Linked DNA regions of Homo sapiens: region 2 is linked to region 1. Evidence: promoter capture Hi-C in 16 types of primary human blood cells and fetal thymus (Javierre and others, 2016). All regions are on one chromosome and are shown on one strand. Each heading gives the region's core, a stretch centred on a gene start or on the middle of the fragment in contact. The rest is flanking DNA. Distances are from core to core; before and after follow the strand shown.

Region 1 (3,654 bases), core at 370-2,869:
AAAAAAAAAAAATGAATCCATGCACATGTATTTTACTTTCAGTCTGAAAACGTATCTAACCTTGCATCACAAAGTAATAACCCCCAGATTGCTGGTCTGTAGTGCAACAGAAGTAAACACTGAAAACACTTAAATATTTCCATCTGGAAACAGTAAATTAAACCTTCTATTTACCTGTGGTGACAGCTTCTCAGTTCTGAGCTTGTCTTGCCACAAACTGTTGAGTCCACAGAGCAGACAGGGCCCTGAGCTTCAGCCTGGCAGTAAGAAGGTGAAGGAGGAAGTGATTACGGTTGTTCTCTGGATGCCCCCCAACTCTTCACCTTGGAAGAGGAAAGTCATGCTGACCCTGCCCCGCAACGACACGGGTGTCGCAGGGTCCTTCCCAGGAAAATCCCGTGTCCTTGCCCTGACCCAGTTCCCCAAGGCACCCTTATCCCAAGGAGGCTGGGAGAGGAGGGGCCTCCCTGGTTTCCTGGCAGGGGTCGGCTGAGGCTGACGTGGGCGTGCAGCCCCGGAGGTCCCACGAAGCCCAGGCCATTGGACAACTGTGGGTTTTTCTTGGAAAGAATCCTGACACTTGGAGCACACTTCCTCTCTTTTAACTTTTAAAAAAGACTTCAGAAAAGCACAGGCGTGCAGTTGTGCCCGGTTGGGGTGCGTGAGGGGGCAGGGCCGACCCTCCTGACTTCCACTGGCACCACCCCGCGCCCCTCCAGCTTCACCCGCACCACGCGGGCCGCGCAGCCCGGGACTCCGGAAAGACCTGGGCGCCCGACCCTCAGCGGCCCCGACCGGGAGCGACGTGGCGCGGCTTCCGCAGAGAAGCCACCCGGCCCAGCGCAGCCTGTCCGGGGTCGCCCCGCCGCGTTGGGGCACAAAGTGGGAACCGTTCCTCAAAGGTGGTCGCAGCTGGAGGAACAAACACGCGCGTCTCCGTCCGACGGCAGAAGCCGGGCGCACCCACCCAGGGTCGGTCTGTCCGGGGCCCGGGTTTCCTCGCCTCGGAGATCCCTGGAGGTCTCGGAAAGCACCTTCTGAGTCGGCGACGCCCCAGCTCCGCTGCGCCGAGGAAAGGGCAAGTCCCGATGTCCCCGCCCGTGGGCCCTCCCTCCGAGGGGACAACCCGAAGACCCAGAGTCGCTGCGGTCCCCAGACCCGACCTCCGCGCAGCGCCAAACCCCAGGGACAGCCGCGGACTCGGGTTCCGGGCAGGCCCCCAGCGCTAGGAGGGAGGCCGAGCTGGGCCCCGAGATCCCTCGCAAGAGTCCTCGGTGTGTGTCCTCGCTCCTCGCCCTCAGGTCCCCAGCCGCGCACCCCGGGCCCCCGGGTCCCCGGGACCCGGAGACCCCGAGACCCCGGGCCCCGCGCATGCGCCGCCCAGCCCCTGCCCCTCCCCCGTCCGCCGCCCTCCGGGTCCCGGGACCTGGGAAGCCCGGACCGCGGACCCCCGCGCGCGTTCCCGCCCGCCCGCCCGCCCGCCCCCGGGCACCTGGGCCGCGGTCCGCCGCCTGCCGGTCCGTGGGGCGAACGCCGAAGGAGGCGGCGCCGGGCAGGGCGCTAGCGGCCGCCTCCGCCCCCGCCGCCCGCTGCCCCCGCCGCGGGGCCGCCGCGTCCACGGCCCATGCCCGGCGCCGCCTCCGCGCGTCCGTGCCAGCCGCGCCCCCGCGACACGCACCGCCCCTCGGCCCGCCCCCTGCCCCGGTCCGCGCGAGCCAGTGTCCCGAGGCCCGACCCGGAAGCCCCGCCCGCCCCGCGCGCCCTCCGGGCCCCGGGCCTCGGCCCCGGGACACACCCCCCGGAGGGCGGCGCCCGATTGGCTGCTCGCGGTGGGCGGGGCCCCGGGAGCGCTCAGCGGCTCCCACCTAGCGCCCCGCGGCCGCTGCAGCCAAGGGAAACTGAGGCCGGAGAGGTGGAGGGACCGTCCAAGGTCACCGATGGGACACCGCTGAGCGTCAGCGCCCCTCCAGCCCGGCGCACCGGGGCGGGGCTGAATTCGAGGCGGGGACGCGCGGCCGCGGGGCGGGTGGAGGTTCCCGCCGGGCGCCCGTGCCACGCTGGCGAGCCCCTCCTGCCTCCTCGATGAGCCCGGCTCTGCTACTCTGTGCGATGAGCCGGTCTAGACCCGGGACCCGGGACCGGGTGCCCTTGAGGCTCAGAAGTGCGTAGGGTGGGAGGCGGCCCGGGAGGGACCTTGTCCCTGGAACCCCAGGATGCAAAATAAGGAGAAGGGGAAGGCGAGCTGGGAGGACAAGGAAACAGGTGGCGGGAGGTGCCAGGGCGGTGTGGTGGGCGGGGGAACGAGGAGGGTGAAGGGCAACGCGGACGGGCTCGGGGAGGCGCCGCCAGCTCCGACCCCACAACCCCACCCCTCTCCAGCGGCCCAAGAGCCATGCCCGCCCCTACTTCATGCGCTGGGGGGTGAGGGGCTGACTTTGTGCCTACGCAAGGCGCTGGGACTCTGCCAGAGCAAGGAGAGGTCGCGGCCCGGTGGCCAATGGCGAGGAGTAGGAGAGCGCCCTGCAAAGCCGCTTTGTTCGGGCCGTGACGCTCGAGCTGCCGGAGCGGAATGCACAAAGCCCCTGGGTGCCGGCACATCAGGGCTCCCCTCCTCGGGAACGCAATGTGTGCTATGCCCGCTCCACTGCCTGCCCTCCGCTGCCAGCTGTGCCTGCCACTGTGCTATTTGTGGCAGCGGGCGCCCAGGAGGACCCACTCCGGAAAGCAAACCCAGATCTCATTAGGCAGGGGAACTGGAGATCAGGCGGGAACTGGCCCTTTCACAAACTTCTCTTAAACTCACCCTTGTTGATTAGCCAGGCACCTATGGTGAACTTTGCCCCACCCTCCAGACACCCACATATCCTTCCCACTGGCACACGGCAACCTCACCTTCTCTTGCACATGTTAGCCAGCAATAGCTATCATTTATGTTGTTTCAGAGTTTATAGGGTGACCTGTACACGTAATATCCTGCATATCTCGTGGGGTGTGCAGGCAGCCACATCCAAGCTTGTCATCCTGTTGTGTTTGGTGAGGGAAGCTGACCCTGGGCTGCCCACGCAGAGCTCAGGGGCTACATCCTCATGAGGACCTCCGGGCTCAAAGACATTACCTGGCATACCCATATCCCAGACTCTCAAGGACCAGGGTCCACACAGGTGTGTGACCCAGATGCACCACCCAGGTCAACCAGGTGTTGAAAGACCTAGTGAACATTCTCATGAACAAGGACAAAGGCTATGTGGGGGTGTGCAGAGTGGTCACGTACACTCAGCAGACATAGGAAAGTGATATTCTTGGGTTTTTTGGGGCTCCCAAGGTTTTAGGGAGAGAAAACTTGTTTTTCATCCATGTGTCCCAGAAATAAGCATTTTCAATCAAATGCTGTCAGCCAGTCTCCCGCAGGCGTCCTGAGGGTAGAAGCAAGTTCAGGACTCTTCTCTTGGGAGTATCCTGGCCAGAAACAGCCCCATATCCATGCTTCCCGGGGGTGGTAGGTTTCTTCTGGGAAACCACGCTCAGATGAGAGAGATGAAGCAATTTTCTGTTGGCCACGAAGACCTTGTCACACACCCAGCATGGGAGCAACTGTCACAAAGGGCACACCCTCACCCCCATTCCCAGCTCCAGGAAGTCTCTCTTTACCTTCTT
Region 2 (3,767 bases), core at 412-2,911, 170 kb before region 1:
GACTGCCCTAGGGCTGCCTGAGCACGCACGCCTCCCAGGCCCACATCAGCTCTTCCCTAAACCTGGACGGCGCGTCTCCACTGCAGCTCCCAGTACCGGGGAGGCAAAGCCCACAGCCAGAATTCCAAGTCTCAATCCTCTGGGTGACCCGGCAGCATGGACTCATAGTAAATAGCAACATTTGTAACTGGACTGTTTTACAAAGAATGCTGCTTGCCTCGAGTATTTTGAGAAAGTGCACATATGAAAGCCTCCACTACAGGGCACCGTTCATGTGGTCCCACGCTGTGAGTGCCCTCAGCCCTCACCTCTCCTCCACGGTGACAGCTGGTGTCACAGCCAATGAGCAACACCACCAGTGCTCTCAGCCAAAAAGTGCACACCACCACGTGCCTCCCAGAGCTGTGTGTTCCCAACAGCGTGGCTGCTCCCCTGGGGCCTCTCTTCCGGCCAGTGCTGAGTTTGTGGGACCAGTTTTGACCCTGATGAATGACCAAAGGCGTGCAAGAGACAGTCCTGTTCCCAGCATTGTGGAGAGAGGAGGAACCGCCTGCCGAAGGTGAAATGCACATCTGAGAGGTGCGTAAGGAGACCGCAGGGACACGCTCTGGGAAACAGGGCAAAGCCAACAGGGATTTGGGATTAGCAGAAGTCCTGTGGCATCAAGCAGCCCGACAGCCAGGAGACCAGCCAACACTTGTGCCAACGTGGTCAGGAGAGACATGGCAGACGCATGTCCTGGCTCCAGGCATTCAGGCAGAAGGGAAGCAAACACTACTGAACACACCTCCACATGACCTGGGCCGTAGGGTGTCCCTGCAGAACCCACCCAATCACAGCTCGCATTTCTTTTCTTTCTTTCTTTCTTTTTTTTTTTTTTGAGACAGTCTCGTTCTGTCGCCCAGGCTGGAGTGCAGTGACACCATCTCGGCTCACTACAACCTCTGCCTCCTGGCTCAAGTGATTCTCCTGCCTCAGCTTCCCAAGTAGCTGGGATTACAGGCATGCGCCACCATGCCTGGCTAATTTTTCTATTTTTAGTAGAGACAGGGTTTCACCATGTTGACCAGGCTGCTCTCGAACTCCTGACCTCAGGTGATCTGCTCACCTCGGCCTCCCAAAGTGCTAGGATTACAGGAGTTAGCCACCGTGCCCAGCTCACAGCTCCCATCTCTACAAACTCAGCTCTCTGCTGTTGAAACCTACACTGAGGTCTCCAGCTGTGGCTTCTCCTCTGAGCTCTCAGCCTGCTCCACCCCTCAGCTGCAGCCTAAGTGGCCTCTCACCCTCACTACTTCCAAAATGGGGCCGTGGACTCTGCCCGCTGCCTCTTCCAGCCCTCCTGTCACATGAGTGGCAGCACCCAGGTTCCGCCAGAACCTCAGGGACACTCGAGTCCCTCTCTGCACTGCCACATGAGCCCTAAGCTACCAGAACGTCAGGCAGACCGCAGCGCTCCAGCCTCCTTCCCCAGCACTAGCTTCCTCCCCAACACAGTGAGGGCCAGGTCCGCATTACCCTCCCCACCACTCTTCGGCCCAGAGACTCTGCTCTTCCCTCTGTGGAGGGACCTTCTGAAGGTCAAGTCGCTCTGCTCTGATCTCTCCTATGCACGTCCTCCTGCACTGACGGTACTCCAGGGTCCGCTCTGGTCACGCGGCGCTCTGGGAGCCGGCCTCGGGCTGCCCCTCCATCTTCATCTCTTCTTACCCTGCCCCTCGGTCACTGACTGGCTGAGGTTGCTAGTTTTTGTTCAACAGCAACTTTCCTCTTCTCAGTAAGAAATTTCAGCTGTGTGCGGAATAAAGACAACGTGTCCTAGCATCCTGTGCAGGGAAGCGTCGTACTCAATGGGACACAAACGGAGTCACAGGGACAACTTGCAGTGAGGGTCCTTGAAAGGTGGGGATTTGCTCTTCTTCACCTAGAAGAAGGCTTCCTGCCGGGAGGTATGAGGGCCAGAGCCGGTGCAGCCACACTAGACCATGAGGATGAGAAGCTCATCACGGCAGCACAGGATGGAGTAAGCCTGGGTCCCTGACACCAAGGAGTACTGACCAGCTGTCGCACGTCTACGCAGAATCCCGACCGCAGCGGCTGCACTCCCACCCTCCGGCCCCCATGCTGCTCCCAGAGCACGTCCCACGCCTTCCTGCCCCAGGACCTCTGCACTCCTGCCGTTGCCTCTGCCTGGAGTGCTCCCCCTTGCACTTTCCTACCGGCTGCCTCAGTCTCCTGGTTCAGATCTCAGTCCCGTGTCACCTCCTGACCATCTTTGCCAAAGAACCACCCGATGCAAATTCCTCCCCAAACATGCCAGCTCCAGGACACCATCTTCCCTTAGTCCCTTTGTTGTGCTAGGATCTGCAGGCCTGCTCATCTGATAACATTTCGTATCTTTTCCTATTAAACAGAAATTCTGTGAGAGTAGGTCTGTCTTATCATGATGTCCCTTGTCCCCCAAAGCATTCCAGCACAGAGAAGACACTCAGCAGAACAGCTTGTTCCTACAGCAGGACTCAGAATGCAGTTTCTGGGAGTTGCAGGCTGCCTGTGCTGGCCGGCACTGCCAGAACTTAAAATCCTCAAGCACCCAGAGGGCAGATCTGCCTGACAGAGGAGGCCAGGACGCTCCTCTCACCTTAAGTCAGCTCTGAGAACTTTCTGCATTGCACACAATTGTTCAAGAAATTCATGAAAACTTTACAAACACCCACCCACTAATGGCCAGACACCTGCTGGGGCCAGTGGCCTCACTGACTGGAGAAGGCAGTGGCTGGAGCTCAGGAGGCTGAGGTGGCTGCAATCTGAGGGCCAGAAACTAGAGAGGAGGGGGCTACTCCGACAGAACGAGCTCTAGGAACCCAAGGGAATCTCGAGTCTCTGGCTGAGCACCAGGCAGTGCACAGGTGCAGGGCAGGAGTCCTCAAGGTCAAGAGAAGAGCAACTACCAGGGAGCAACGAGCGGAGCTCACAGGGCCGAGAAACCGCCGTCTTACCAGGGAGCAACGAGCGGAGCTCACAGGGCCGAGAAGGTGTCATCTTGCAGCAGCAGGAGTGCAGGGGTCTCGCGGGCCTTGCGGGACACACGGGTGTGCAGCAGAGGCCTTGGGAAGGACGCCGGTGGCGGGAGGCGGAAAGGCTATGCTAGACCCACCACTTCAAAGCATAAAAAGCCTCGGAAGGATGATCTGCACCTTAACTGCCTGCCAAGCCCAACCCAACTCCTCAGAGAAAGACAACAAAATCCAGACATTCAAAAGTGTACACCTGACAATATCCAACAACCAAGAAAAACTTGTGAAAAATGTAGAGGCAGGAAAATGAGGCCAAAACCCGGAAACAAAATTAGTCAGTCGAAACAGACCCCAAAATGATGGGGAAGATGGTATGAGAAGAATCGTAGACCCTAAAACCATTATCAATTTGCTCACGAGGATGTAAAAGAAAACCCAAGTACCATGAGAAGAAATAAGGGGAAACTATTATGTTAGAAACAAAGTTAACTGGATGGGCTTCACAGCTGTTAGGCACTGCAGAAGAAATGATATCTGACAACAGAAACTACCCAAACTGTAGCTCAAGGAAAAAGGCTGGGCCGGGCACGGTGGCTCACACCTATAATCCCAGCAGTTTGAGAGGCCGAGATGGGTGGGTCACTTGAGGTCAGGAGTTCCAGACCAGCCTGGCCAACATGGCGAAACCCCGTCTCTACCAAAAATACAAAAAAAAAATTAGCCGGGTGTGGTGGTGGGCACCTGTAATCC

Evidence for each region. Contacts are between HindIII fragments. The CHiCAGO score rates a contact against its expected background, and 5 or more counts as called.
Region 2: a fragment that was not itself captured here is called in contact with the fragment with the promoter of PPARA in region 1 in 7 of 17 cell types (endothelial precursors, erythroblasts, M1 macrophages and 4 more); the score reaches 8.4 in endothelial precursors.

Annotation. Positions count from the first base shown.
Region 1 is chr22:46,148,491-46,152,144 of GRCh38, reverse strand. It overlaps PPARA (peroxisome proliferator activated receptor alpha), which reads right to left and starts at 1,619. Exons shown (of 9, transcript NM_005036.6): 1 at 1,493-1,619; 2 at 175-257. RefSeq lists an enhancer at 879-1,068 and silencers at 1,279-1,398, 1,549-2,158. The HindIII fragment of the contact is 11,056 bases long and covers 1-3,014 here.
Region 2 is chr22:46,317,096-46,320,862 of GRCh38, reverse strand. The region is part of intron 7 of GTSE1 (G2 and S-phase expressed 1); the gene reads right to left. Among named protein-coding and RNA genes, the nearest start is that of TRMU, 17 kb to the left of the region's middle. The HindIII fragment of the contact is 4,924 bases long and covers 1-3,767 here.